Linked DNA regions of Homo sapiens: regions 1, 2, 3 and 5 are each linked to region 4. The links are contacts of gene promoters, found by promoter capture Hi-C in blood cells and fetal thymus (Javierre and others, 2016). All regions are on one chromosome and are shown on one strand. The core of a region is centred on a gene start or on the middle of the fragment in contact, and the rest is flanking DNA. Distances in the headings are between cores, read along the strand shown. Region 1 has its middle 24 kb from the start of OAT. Region 2 has its middle 41 kb from the start of OAT. Region 3 has its middle 5.3 kb from the start of NKX1-2. Region 4 holds the start of CHST15 (carbohydrate sulfotransferase 15). Region 5 has its middle 64 kb from the start of OAT.

What was found. The method cuts DNA at HindIII sites, captures the fragments that hold promoters and counts their contacts. A CHiCAGO score of 5 or more calls a contact.
Region 1: a contact is called between a fragment that was not itself captured here and the fragment with the promoter of CHST15 in region 4, in 3 of 17 cell types (monocytes, neutrophils and M0 macrophages). The highest score is 10.2, in monocytes.
Region 2: a contact is called between a fragment that was not itself captured here and the fragment with the promoter of CHST15 in region 4, in 6 of 17 cell types (neutrophils, monocytes, M0 macrophages and 3 more). The highest score is 12.5, in neutrophils.
Region 3: a fragment that was not itself captured here is called in contact with the fragment with the promoter of CHST15 in region 4 in 1 of 17 cell types (monocytes); the score reaches 5.5 in monocytes.
Region 5: a contact is called between a fragment that was not itself captured here and the fragment with the promoter of CHST15 in region 4, in 3 of 17 cell types (monocytes, M0 macrophages and neutrophils). The highest score is 8.1, in monocytes.

What each region holds. Positions count from the first base shown.
Region 1 is chr10:124,393,718-124,396,417 of GRCh38, reverse strand. No RefSeq gene overlaps it. Among named protein-coding and RNA genes, the nearest start is that of OAT, 24 kb to the left of the region's middle. The HindIII fragment of the contact is 2,383 bases long and covers 218-2,600 here.
Region 2 is chr10:124,376,206-124,378,905 of GRCh38, reverse strand. No RefSeq gene overlaps it. Among named protein-coding and RNA genes, the nearest start is that of OAT, 41 kb to the left of the region's middle. The HindIII fragment of the contact is 6,926 bases long and covers 1-2,700 here.
Region 3 is chr10:124,454,007-124,456,706 of GRCh38, reverse strand. No RefSeq gene overlaps it. Among named protein-coding and RNA genes, the nearest start is that of NKX1-2, 5.3 kb to the right of the region's middle. The HindIII fragment of the contact is 2,105 bases long and covers 266-2,370 here.
Region 4 is chr10:124,092,275-124,094,974 of GRCh38, reverse strand. CHST15 (carbohydrate sulfotransferase 15) reads left to right here and starts at 1,377. Exons shown (of 8, transcript NM_001270764.2): 1 at 1,377-1,506. The HindIII fragment of the contact is 12,111 bases long and covers 1-2,700 here.
Region 5 is chr10:124,353,290-124,355,989 of GRCh38, reverse strand. No RefSeq gene overlaps it. Among named protein-coding and RNA genes, the nearest start is that of OAT, 64 kb to the left of the region's middle. The HindIII fragment of the contact is 6,746 bases long and covers 1-2,700 here.

The sequences.
Region 1 (2,700 bases), core at 160-2,659, 300 kb before region 4:
CATTCTCCTGCCTCAGCCTCCCCAGTAGCTAGGACTATAGATGCCCGCCACCACGCCCGGCTAATTTTTTGTATTTTTAGTAGAGATGGGGTTTCACTGTGTTAGCCAGGATGGTCTTGATCTCCTGACTTTGTGATCCACCTGCCTCGGCCTCCCAAAGTGCTGGGATTACAGGCGTGAGCCACTGCGCCCAGCCTATCAGTTACATTTTTAAGCTTTTTGAGATTTATTTATTCCATGTGTTTTCTTTTTTTTGTATTCCTTTTTTTTTTTTGAGACAGAGTCTTGCTCTGTTGCCTAGGCTGGAATGCAATGGCGTGATCTCAGCTCACTGCAACCTCCGCCTCCCAGGTTCAAATGATTCTTGTGCCTCAGCCTCCCAAGTAGCTGGGACAATAGGCCTACACCACCATGCCCAGCTAATTTTTGTATTTTTAGTACAGATGGGGTTTCACCATGTTGGTCAGGCTGGTCTCGAACTCCTGACCTCAGGTGATCCACCCACCTCGGCCTCCTAAAGTGCTGGGATTACAGGTATGAGCCACTGTGCCCGGCATATTCCATGTGTTTTCTAACAGCATTTCAACTCTGATCTACAGAAAACTAGAAGTTATAAAAAGAATACATCTAAAAGATAGGTCTCATACTTCCCTTTCAAAGTAGCGCGTTCTCTGTGCATATACTAATATTTATCATTTTTTTAAAGTTATCCTTTTTATATGTGGTGTTCTGCAACTTTTTCTTTTTTCTTTCTTTCTTTTTTTTTTTTTTTACCTGAACAGAGTATTTTGGATGTTTTTCCGTCTTATTCTCAAATAATTAGTATTTCATCATATATGGGTATACTGTAATTTCATCTCATATTGGGACCATTTGACTTGAATAAAACTTGTGACCACTTCATATCTTTTCACAATGGTGCAAAAGTGCACAGTGTTTCTATGGAGTAAATCCCTAGAAGTGACTTGCTTTTCAAAGAAAAAAAACTCAAGTTAATTGTGTCACATTGCTCCCTGCCTCCCCCAGGTTCTAAAAAGTTACCTCTTAGCAGTATGAGAGTTGAGTCTTTGGTACTCTGTCAGGGTAGTGCTCTGTCACTGAATGACTACGTTTAAATGAGTGAGCAGTTACTGGGAGGCCTCCTCATACCAATTACAACTGGGGTGGCACCCAGGCCAGGTAAGCTCTCCAGGGCATTCAAGGTTGAGAACCTGTCTTAGGAATCTTATTAAGATGCAGATTTTTGTTTTGGAGACATAGTCTCACTGTCACCTAGGTTGGAGTGAAGTGGTATGATCTCGGTTCACTGCAACTTCCACCTCCCAGGCTCAAGCGATTCTCCCACTTCAACCTCTCTACTAGCTAGGACCATGGCCGTGTGCCACCAGATTTGGCTAATTGGTTTGTATTTTTGGTAGAGACAGGGTTTTGCCATGTTTCCCAGGGTGGTCTTGAACTCCTTAGCTCAAGTGGTCCACCTGCCTTGGACTCCCAAAGTGCTGGGATTATAGGTGTGAACCACAGTGCCCAGCCTTAAGATGCAGATTCTAATTCAGTCTCTCTCTGTGTGTGTGTACTGGAGATTCCACATTTGCAGGTTGCCTTAGGACATACTATTATTATGATGAGTCAGTTTAATTTGCATTCAGTTATTCTCACCAGAGATGACCTTAGGGCAGGTGATTTTTAACAAAGCTATCTTCCTGCTAAATTCTTTGAAGGCTTTAAAAGTCAGAGAGGACCCAGAGGTAGGAAAGTACAGGGAGTTGTGGAGACGGTGGCCAATGACAATGAGGGCCTTTGGGCTTAATTTGGTGAGCAGTGGGGTCACTGAAGAAAGGGGTTGAAGCAGGGGCGTGGCGTGATCCTATTAGAAAATCCTAGGCTGGGTGCGGTGGCTCATGCCTGTAATCCCAGCACTTTGGGAGGCTGAGGTGGGCGAATCACCTGAGGTCGGGAGTTTGAGACCAGCCTGACCAACGTGGAGAAACCCCATCTCCACTAAAAATACAAAAAATTAGCCAGGCGTGGTGGTGCATTCCTGTAATCCCAGCTACTCGGGAGGCTGAGGCAGGAGAATCACTTGAACCTAGAAGGCAGAGGTTGCAGTGATCAGAGATTGCACCATTGCGCTCCAGCCTGGGCAACAGAGCGAAACTCTGTCTCAAAAAGGAACAAACAAAAGAAAATCCTTTCTGGCTGATGGTTTAGGGCTTACTCATGCAGTACACACTGGTTGTAGGGCCTCAGGGCCTATGTCCAGTGGTGAACAGGTGGGCAGGAACCTGCTGACGGCACTTAGTGCCCTGGGGATGAAGTGGAGGGGTGGTGAAGCGGGAGGCAGGGAGAGTCAGACACAGGCTTTGGATTTGGGGTAGAACATCAGGGCAACTGCTGTGGTTAGATACTCCCTTTCCTTAGCTGTGAGGAAGTGGGATGCTATCTACCTTTCAGGGGAGTTAGGAGGATTAAAAAAGATGGAGTAGGTCAAGCTCCTGGTGGAGGACCTGGCACAGAATTACAGATCAATAAATAAGTTGCTAGCTCCCCCTCCCCACCCCCAACACATACAGTTGGAGGAGTTTGGGAGAGAGGAAGCTTCGGGAGAAGGATTCTTTCAGATAAGGGTGACATCTAGATAAGGAAGAGATGGCGTAGAGCTGATAGCCTGGCTGTATCACAAAGGGGATGTCAAGTTAA
Region 2 (2,700 bases), core at 178-2,677, 280 kb before region 4:
CTGTGGCTTTGCCCATCAAGTAGATCTGCTTGGAGTGAACTAGGGGCTGAAGGAAAATTGATATAAAAGTAATACATGTTCCTTGAAAACCTCTTAATAATAGAAAAATACACAGAAGGAGGGTAGAATCATCCATAATCCCGTCTGGCAGATAGAGCTCCTGAAGATGGCTTGCAGCTTTCTTTCCGGGCCTTCTGTCCATATCCTTGCATAACTATCCTTCCAAAATTGGGCACTGTGGGCACCATGGAGTCTGGGAGGACTGAAGTTAACTTACCTTCCATGGTTACTTGAAGGGTAACATTCTTGGCCACCCTTGGCTCTGCAGATGTCGAGCAGACAGGCCCTCATGCTGCGTGGGTGGGCAGGTGTACTGTCCACCTGCCCCTGGTGAGCCTGGGTGGGCCAAGAGGGGCGTCAGCACCACTGGCCACACCCAGCATCTTCTTTGCATCTGTCCTGACCCTTTTCCATCTGACCTCGTCTACATAACCTTCTTCCTTCTTGGACTCAGGCCTCCTCCATCCCTCCTCACTGCATTCTCCCTCCCGTGAAGGCTGATTCTTTCCCCAAATGGCATCTGCGTTTCCACGCCACCAGGTTTGCAATAAACATTCTGGGGCTAGGCTGTGTTGGGCGGGCAGGAGTTGGCAGTCTTCAAGAGGACAAGCCCAGTGCCCAGTTATTCTTCCCTTCCCCTGCCCTCTGCATCCCCTCCCTCCCTCCCTCCCTTCCTTCCTCCCTCCCTCCCTCCCTCCCTCTCTTTCTCTCTTTCCTTTCTTCCTTTTTGAGACAGAGATCTTGCTATGTTGCCCAGGCTGGTCTCGAACTCCTGGCCTCAAGTGATCCTCCTGCCTCAGCCTCCTGAGTAGGTGGAATTACAAGTGTGCACCTGGCTCCCCACACCATCTCTGAATCACATTCACTGGGTGCTGAAGTGCTAGGTTCCAGAATGGTCCTCGCCATCATCAGCATTCCACTTCATCCTCCCGGGATCCCAAGGCAGGCACTGCCATTAGCACCGCTGTGTACGTGTGGCCCAGCAAGTTTGCCCAACATTGTCCTCCCGCGCTGAGAGGGCACTGCCACAAGCACTCTGTGCTGGACGTTTGCCATGCAGCATTGTATCTAAGTCTCACAACAGCCTTGAGAAGGAAGCATTATGAGGCCCATTTCACATGTGTGCAAATGGAAGCCTGGGAGCCAAGTCAGCGCTGGCCACACAAAGGTGACGAGGCACAGTCCCAGCCCTGGGGGAGCTCATGGTCCACCAACGGCATTCTTCCTGACTCTAGGGGACTCTCCGACCACTTCTGCAAAGAAGCAGGACAGGGCTGGGTGCTCCCACTGCCATCTTCTTTCCCCACCTCCCTTTATTCATTTTCTAAACCATCAATCCCCAGAGCAGGTGCTGGACCTGCAGCCGGTGCCCATAAACACTCAGCTGATTTAAGGGGGAACAAGGTGGGTGCTGTGCTGGAAGAAGGGGGAGAGAAGAGTTGAGAAAAGGGCACGAGGAAGGTGGTCTCGAGGACTGGAGTGCTACCCCCATGCGGTCTTCACTCCAAAAGATGGCACAGTGTGGGGGGCCTACTTGGTGCCAACAGCCGGGCTACCTCCGAGACAAAGCCTGGCACCCGAGAGGAAGGGGAGCTACTGGCAGGGAACCCCATGCACTCTTGTCCCTTGGAGACCCCAGAAGATCTCAAAGAAAGGGGCAGAGCCACAGTCTTCCAAGGCTTCTGTAGGGTCTTTCGTGCATGAGAGAAAACTCAGGCACAACCTCTGTGAACAACCCCTACAGGGACTCAGGGGCTGGGAGAGACACCAACTGCCACCCCTTGGAGGTTGTGCCCAGAGGTGGGGGCTGAAGACCCACTGGCTCTTTGAAGTGGAATTTTCAAAAAATTTCTTTATACTGAAGTTCACAAATCTGTAATCTCGCCTGGGATAATGGGGTAGGGGTCAGGGCAGGAGAGGATCCTAGTTCTTGAGACTCCATCGGGCTTTGTCTGCCACTGGCGGGCACTCTCGGGAGGATTTGAATGGTGAATGGGCCAAGGGGATGGAGGCCTCAAACGGACTTGACTTCCGCCCACCTGCAGAAGGAGGCTGATGGCTCTGATGGCTCTATAATAACAAGCCTTTCTCCTGTCCAAAAACCTGCAGGAATGACTGTGGGGAAATGACAGCATTTCCCCCAGCTCCTTACCCCATCCTCTACCTTCCGTCCGGCTTGTGTACTGTCATCTGGAAGGAGGAAAAGATGTGATGTGATGTCTTTATTAACATCACCTTTGGGAGAAGCGGGGGAAGCCCGGGGTGCTGGGAGGAACTAACTTGGCCACACAGAACCCGAGTGGAGGGGCTCTAAGGGCACCGGAAGGCAAGGTGGTCTTACAGCAGTGTCAGACCTAGGGAGCGGACGGATGTGCTGCCGGTGTGAGTGTCTGTGGAGAAAGGACTCTGTTCCCTCATTTGCTGAGGTTCACCCACCTGGGTCATGGTACTCGACCCCCTCTTCCCATCTCCAGGAAGTCTCTGTCCCAGACACCATCTTTATTTTTTTTATTTTTATTTTTTGAGACGGAGTTTCTCTTGTAGCCCAGGCTGGAGTGCAATGGCGCGATCCCGGCTTACTGCAACCTCTGCCTCCTGGGTTCAAGTGATTCTCCTGCCTCAGCCTCCTGAGTAGCTGGG
Region 3 (2,700 bases), core at 69-2,568, 360 kb before region 4:
CTTCCTCCCTTCCTTCCTTCCTTCCTTTCTTCCTTCCTTCCTTCCTTCCTTTCTGAGACAGGGTCTTGTACTATGACCCAGACTGGAGTGCAGTGGCATGACTCATAGCTCACTGCAGCCTCAAACTCCTGGGCTCAAGTATCCTCTCGCCTCAGCCTCCCAAAGTGCAGAGATTATAGGTGTGAACCACTGTGCCTGGCCCCTGCATTTTTCTTTATGAAAAGCATGGTACCCAGCATGGATGACCTGAATAAAAACATAAGCTTGTTCCACAGATGCTCAGCATGGGAGTCAGACCCTTTATGAACCTCTATCCGTACCTAAATATTTCTTGATCCGATTTTTGTCTTCAGCCTATATGGTCTCTCATGGGTTTCCAATCCATCTTAGTCAAACTGTGGAGCTTTGGGTTTGTGTTACTGGGCCACCATTTATTGCTTTCGACTCTTCAACCTACCAAACACCAAGGTACTGGTGGGCACAGGGATGCACGCTCTGCCCTCCCTGACTTTAAGACAATCCAAGGACCAGAATCTGTATGCCAGGCAGTGTGATAAAGGCTGTGCCTGTCAGGGTTCCTTGACTCTGGCTAATTGAATTCCAAAATGCAGAGGGGAAGAGAAGGTTGGGAAGAGTGTAGGCAATTTACAAAATCAAAGGAAATGCTGAACAACCAGACCTGGGCAAGTACTGGAACCATCAGCGTCAAGAGTGGGAAATAACAGATTATTTAGTTTTGGGCACCACTGCCACAATGAAGCGGTGTCACTCTGCTTCAGATACTCCCGGGAGAGAGGCCAGTAGGACTCTACTGCAGGGGCTCACTCTTACCTCCCGGCCAGAAGAAGGTTGGGGGGCCTGATTGGCAGTCCCATCACTACCACATACAAGGGTGGGGGCCCAGGGGGATCTCATCAAAATCAGCTACAGACACCAGAAAAGGGGGAGTGGATCCTCAGATCAGGCAAAACCAAGAGATGTCCATCAAGGGCTATGATGGCAGCGTGCCCCAGAAACAATGTGGGAAGGAGTGCTCCAGTCCGCGTGGGGTAAGTCAGGGAAGCCCTCAAGAAGAAATAGTATTGTAGGGATGCAGTGAGGCTCCCAGGGAACCCGGAATGGAACAACCAGCATCAGGAAGAAGTCAGCAACAGTGGCAGCAGCTGGAACCCACCTGTCTGCCTGTCTCTCGTGGCTTCTCCGCTCTGCTCTGCACTTGTTTTTGTTGTTTGTTTGTTTGTTTTTGAGACGGAGTTTCATTCTTGTTGCCCAGGCTGGAGTGCAATGGTGTGATCTCGGCTCACTGCAACCTCCGCCTCCCAGGTTCAAGTGATTCTCCTGCCTCAGCCTTCCCAGTAGCTGGGATTACAGGCGCCTGCCACCACACCTGGGTAATTTTTGTATTTTCAGTAGAGACAGGGTTTCGCCATGTTGACCAGGGTGGTCTTGAACTGCTGACTTCAGGTGTTCTGCCCGCCTCGGCCTCCCAAAGTGCTGGGATTACAGATGTAAGCCACCACGTCCAGCCTGCACACTTGTTTTTGACTCTCCATGTCCCTGCTGAGTCTCTGCATCTCCATAACTTCTGTGAGCATGTGGTCCTCAGCGGCCACCCGTCTCCATTTTCCTTGCCCATTAAGCTCAAGCACCCACCAGTGGCAGGGAGCATGCCCTAAGATGAGGGAGTTGATTTTTTTTAACTTTGGTTTGGGGTCAGGTGGGAAGGCTATATTTTCAACTCAGCTTTCACAAGTTAGTCTATGAGGTGTTTTTTTTTTTTTTTTTTTTTTGCCGGGGGGAATACTTGCTGTGCTTGGCAGCCAGAGTTCAAAGCTCTGGTGGGAAATGGTAAATGCTAGCCTTTAATTGTAAATGACCTCTCCAGCACCAAGGGAGATAGAGTCCAGTAAACAAACAATGGATTCTGCTATCTGTGGCTTCCTTCTAAAACCTAGTGCTTACCCTCTCCCATATTACAGACCAATTTGAGTAGAAGAAGCACATCTTGGGGAAGGTGGCTGAGGTACTGGGAAAAGGGGTTACCCACAGGCTGTCTGGCAGTTGAGGTGTCCCTCTTTGTCATCAAGCTGTGTCTTATGAAGCTGTCTCTTTGGCACATATATCCTACCCTGGGGGCTGGCTCAAAACGCAGGGTTTTACCTGGAGAATTTCAGTTGCATTTTACTTTAGGAACATAAGATTTTATCTAAAATGCTTTAACACGGCTCATAATATTGCCCCCTCCCCCCCACTCCCTCTGCATAAACTGCAAATTCTTTCCATTGTTAACACTATTCATGGCACTCAGCGGCTCTTCAAGGCTGTGCTGGAATTATAGGCACCTTTGTTTGTGGAATACCTTAGGAAGCTTGGCACCATTGATTTGCATCAGTGCCTCCGGAATAGCCTTTGCCTTCTCCTTAAAGATACTATCTAAACTGTGAAATTCATTAAATAGCCCCAGAAATGGATCAGGTTATTTAACACAACATCCCTAATGGTGCAATATCTCAGCTGTCTGCACGGATAGTGAACATTGTCTTGGATAGTGTTATCAGCCCAGGACACCCGCTATGAATATTGATCCCGAGCTTGTTACAGGCATCACTTGCTATCAGGACAGGTCAGGGTTGGAACCCACCTAGCATCAAAGCAATTTAAAGATAGCACTCAGGCGGAATTTTAATGCCCAGGCTGAAA
Region 4 (2,700 bases), core at 128-2,627:
ATCTAGTCTGAGATTCTAAGGCAAGTCTCTTTGCTGCATTCATCTTTCTTCGCAGATTTTATGTAAGAGGCATTATTTGCAGGAAAACAAGACAGGATTTTAAAGAACTCCCCTCTCATCCCGGTTTCCCATCTGCAGTTATAATCCTCTGATGGTGACCTCTGCATTAGTTGCCATGGGTGCTGAGCAGAAGTTTATGACCTCAGGGTGGACTGTAGCTTCAGGGGGGCGAGATGAAGCCTCCGGCAATAAAGAGATAATGGGGAGAAGCCACTGTCAGGAATGACCCTTCGGTGGCATGTAGTCTACAGTTAACGGAGCACTTTCATTTCCACTTCTGGTTGCTTCGAGGAAGAGGGTGCTGGACTCTGGCCACGGGGACACAGGCCGGCAAGAGACTGCAGATTCTTTTTGTCCCTTGGACCTCAGTTTCCTGAGAGGCTGGGCTTGGTGCTCCAAGCGCCCTCTGAGCGAATCTGCCAGAATTTCATGTGTCTTTTCTTTAACTGATGGCATCTTCAGCCCAGAGTCAGTGGAGTCGGCCACTGGTGCCGCTTTCTTGCCCTCGGGCTGTCCAGGTGGTTCCCTGGGGCAGCCGACTCCAGGCCACTGCGGCAGGCCGTGGCGATCGGGGTCCTGCAGAGCTTTACCTCCCCCGCGGAAGCAAAACACGCCGGGCCAAAGAGCCGGGCCAGCCTTCCCGGGATGCAAAAATACAACAGAGGGCGCCGAACTCACCAGCGCTGTGGCCTTGAATATTAATGTACGGGCTGGCTCCAGACCGCCAAGTTCCTTAAAGATGTCTCTGGCGGCCGGGCGCGGTGGCTTACGCCTGTAATCCCAGCACTTTGGGTTGGGGGGGCGGACGGATCATCTGAGGTCGGGAGTTCGAGACCAGCCTGACCAACATGGAGAAACCCCGTCTGTACTAAAAATATAAAATTAGCCTATTTTGCGTGGTGGCGCATGCCTGTAATCCCGGCTACTCGGGAGGCTGAGGCAGGAGACTCTCTTGAACCCGGGAGGCTGAGGCAGGAGACTCTCTTGAACCCGGGAGGCGGAAGTTGCAGTGAGCCGAGATCGCGCCATTGCATTCCAGCCTGGGCAACAAGAGCGAAACTCTGTCTTTAAAAAAAAGAAGTATCTGGCAAGGTGTCACTGCCAGATTTCAGGGGTTTCGATGTGCTTTTATTTGGAATCACCGCAACACACAAGCAGTGTTGACTCGGAGGGGGAGGGGGCAGGGGCCAAACCCACCGCTCGGCGCACACGCCTTGATCTCACATTCCAGACTGGAGCTGATGTGTGTCAGCGCGACATGGGGCGGGGGGAGGGTTCTCCTCGGATGTTTCATTCGCCGTCTGCACGTCACTCCCAAACTTTTCCTCCCAGCGCTCGGGGAGTCAGGTTGACGCGCCCTGGATGCGGGGCTAGAGGCTCGGGGCTGGGCGCGCTCCCGCGGAGCCGGAGCCGCAGAGGCTCCCGGGCTGGACTCAGGCTTCTCAGGTACAAGTTAGGTGCCAGACGCCGAGGTGGGGTCGGCGAGGAGCGGCGGTAGGAGGTCTGGCCCTGGGCTCGGGGCTCCGGCGCCCCTCCGCGGGTTCGGGCCAGGCAGCGCCGGCGGCGGCCGGGGCTGGGCGTAGGGAGTCCGGGCCGGCGGAGGCGGCGCGCAGCCTCACTCCCCGCGGCGCTCCCGGCGCGGTGGTGGCGGTGGCGGTGGCGGCGGCGGCCCAGGCAGACAATGAACTTGCGAGCTCGACGAGCCGAGGCAGGTTTGGGCCCCGGGCTCCTTGGCCCGGCCTCCCCGAGGCTTCAGCGATCCCCAGCGGGAGGAGTCCCTTCGCCATTGGTCCTGGCCGCGCTCCGGGCGCCCTGCGCGCTTGAGGACCCCGCGGGAAGGGTTACCCAGCGGCGACACACGCCCCCTCCCTCGCAGAGAGGACGCGGCCGGAGCGAGGGGACAGGGGACCGAGCAGTGGCGTGGTGGCGCCGTGGATAGCCGGAGGCCGGCGGGGGGCGCAAGCCGCGTGGAACGCACCGGCGGGCTGTCCGGGAGAAGGAGCCCAGTAGTCGGAATCGGGGCGCCCCTGCACCGCCCAGCTCTGGGAGCCGCAGGCGGGGGACCGACCGACGGACAGACCAGTGCTTTCACGGTGTGAGCGCGCGTCGTTTGGCGGTAGGGGACGGGGATTCCCCCCAGCCTTGCGCTCCGCCCCCACACCCCTATCGCACTTTGGGGAAGTTTCCAGGCGCGGCCCGGGGCAGGTAAGTGGGCATCCGCCACTCTCTCCCCGGTTGCGAGCTCGGATGCGCTTCCAGAACCCTGGCTCTAGCCTTGCGGCGGTTCCGGGCGGGGAGGCCAGAGCTCTCCCGCGCCTAAGCCCGTGGGACCCGGTTCAGGGAAGGGGGATGGCGGGGGCGGGCCTGGGAAGAGATAGGGGAGCGGCTGAGCCCCGAGCGGTGTGAACTTTTGCTCCCCGCCCCCTCCTCCTTCCTCCTCCCCGCCCCGCCCCCACTGCTGTCCCCTCCCTGCGCCCCGCCGCGTCTCGGGAGGCGGCGTGACTCGGGAGTTGCCGGCGCTTCCCGGCGGTGGCGGCGTCTCTGGCCGGCCTTGGTGCGGCGAGCCGAGCGAGGCAGCTCTGAGCCGCGCGGTGAGGCCAGAGGCGGGGAGCCGGGGCTGCGGGGCGGCGAAGCTGGGGA
Region 5 (2,700 bases), core at 1-2,500, 260 kb before region 4:
GCTCTATTGCCCAGGCTGGAGTGCAGTGGCGCAATCTCGGCTCACTGCAACCTCCACCTCCCGGGTTCAAGTGATTCTCATGCCTCAGCCTCCCGAGTACCTGGAGTTACAGGCGCCCACCACCACGCCCGGATAATTTTTGTATTTTTAGTAGAGACGGGGTTTCACCACGTTGGCCAGGCTGGTCTCGAACTCCTGACCTCAGGCGATCCGCCCACTTTGGCCTCCCAAAGTGCTGGGATTACAGACTTGAGCCACCACGCCCTGCCTCATTCTTTCTATTTTTTTTGTACTAATTAAGCATCCCCCCTCTCCCTGCCCCCACCCCTAACTATCCTTCCCAGCCTCCGGAAACCATCCTTCTACTTTCTATGTCCATGAATTCAATTGTTTTGATTTTTAGATCCCACAAATAAGTGAGAATGCATGACATTTGTCTTTCTGTGCCTGGCTTATTTATGTACATGTGTTGAAAATAAAGCTCGGATCTAATTCTATTTTTTTCAATTTGCTTTTCACTTTAAAAATAAAAGGGGAATACTTTATCACTGTCATTACATATTCTCCCAGTCATTAAGTTTTTGACTGTATCATATTCCATCTTATTAATGGGTCGTCATAGGCCAATCATTTTAATTTCCTTGGAGAAAAAGAAAGTTTTGGTTGCATCAGTTCATTCATTCATTCAGCCTGTATTTATTGAACACTCCCAGCATGCGCAGTGCTGGCTGCTCCCCTGGGTCCTGCCTTCCCCGTGCCTGGCCCGAGGAGGGCGGGGCCCTGGGTTCTGAACGCCGGCCTCCCCAGCCTGTGGAGAATATTTCAACACCATCTGTAGCCTTTTGAACTCCACTCCAGTCAATGCCGATAACGAGAGCGATGAGCCTCATTCTTCTATGTGTTTTTAGAAAATTAGAAAACATCGCCATAAAAAGTTAAGAAGCACCGCGATGATTCAGCCACCAGCAGAGTTTACACTTCCGGCTCTCATCCCACAGCTGCCTCCCCCGAGGAAATCAAATGTGCTTCTCATTAGCGGAGCTTTTGAAGAGAAAGCTGAGCTCTGGGCTTTTTGAGATAAGGGAAAAGAGGGAGATGAGGCTGTTCAACGTGCGGAATGAATGAGCGGGTGGTGGGAAGCACGAGGCCTGCGGGGGGAGGGGATGGGGCGATCGGGAGCATAAAACGTGGTCCTCCCTCTGACTGCCTTCTCCTCAGTCCCAGGGACTCAATGAGCCAGTTTTCTGTCATCGTATTAACTTCATGGAATGGTTGAAAATGTCCCAGTTCCAGAGAACATGCCATTTCCCCCAGCTCTGCCTGGAAGCATCTGGGACCTGGGCTCCGGTCAGTGGCCTGGGTTTGAATCCCAGCTTCACCTGTCCTCAGTGGGGAATCTGGGGCGTGTCTGAGCCTCAATGGCTGCAGCTGAGACATGGGAATAATATCACCTACGCTAAAGGACCATAGTGAGACTCAAACGACACAGAAGTGCCTCCATCCTGTCTCCTCTATCATGGACCACTTCTTTGAGTCCTTCCTTTGCCAAACTCTCAGTCTTTGTCCTCTATCTTGGTTTGGTTTCCTCACTCCTAAAGCAGACCCTGAGACCGGCATTGGAGGGAGGGGGATGTATTTGGGAGGTGATCCTGGAAGCACCTGTCGTGGAGAGGTGAGCCCGGGAAGGCTCACTATTAGGGGCAGCTGACCCCTCTCCCCCGGGGGGTCTCGGGAAGCAGAAGCCTGGGGCATCCCACCAGAGGGGTGAGGTTGCTGGGAGCTTTCGCCGCCAGCAAATCTGCTCAGCTCACAGGTTGAGTGCCTCCCCCAGGCCTGTATTTCGCGGTGCTCTGGGCCTATAGATGTCCTTGGCAACCTGCATTGCCTGGGAATTCCCCTGATGGGCACAGGGCTGGTTCAAATCCTTGCGCACTTAGTGAGCACAGCTAAGGAAGAAGCTGGGACAAAGACAAGGGACCCAGGAGGGAGATGGGAGGCCACTCACGGGACGGCGGCCTGAGCTCTCAGTAAGTGGCAAGATTAGATTTCCTTTCACCATCCTCAGCGCTTCTTTGAGAATTTGCCTGTCTCAGCTGTGCTCAGAGGAAAAATGATTTTCTTCTCCTTCGCGGGGCTGGGAGTGTTGGTGGCAATGCATGAGAGCTGAGTGGGGGATTTTCTTTTCCTTCGTGGGGCTGGGAGTGTTGGTGGCAATGCGTGAGAGCTGAGTGGGGCAGTGTTGGCCTGGATCTCGGGGCCATGGAGCCTTCAGGGGCTTGAGACCACAGCTGTCCTGTGGTGGGGTGGGGGGGACTCCTGCTGCAGGGACACTGGTGATGCCAAGTTTCACCCAGGGTGGGTCGTGGCTTCCTCTGCTCCCCCAGCCTGTGCCTCAGGGTCTCTGGCTGCAGCATGGAGCTTCAGGGTGGGCATATGGTTTGGAGCCGGGAGGAACTATCCCCCGTGGTCTGGAATGTTGGGAAGACCTCATTCCTGCACCCCTAAACCCACGCGTGTGATCCAAGGGGACCTGTGCAGGATGAGGAGCCTGTCATGGGCTGCCCTGGGAGAGGCTCTTACCCACCTTGGCCAGTACTCTCTGCACCCATGGGGCTCAGGCTCGGAGGATCTCCCACGGGGACTGAGGGGCAGGTGGCCATGCCTGGACTCTTGAGGGCGGGATCTCCAGAAGCTGCCTGA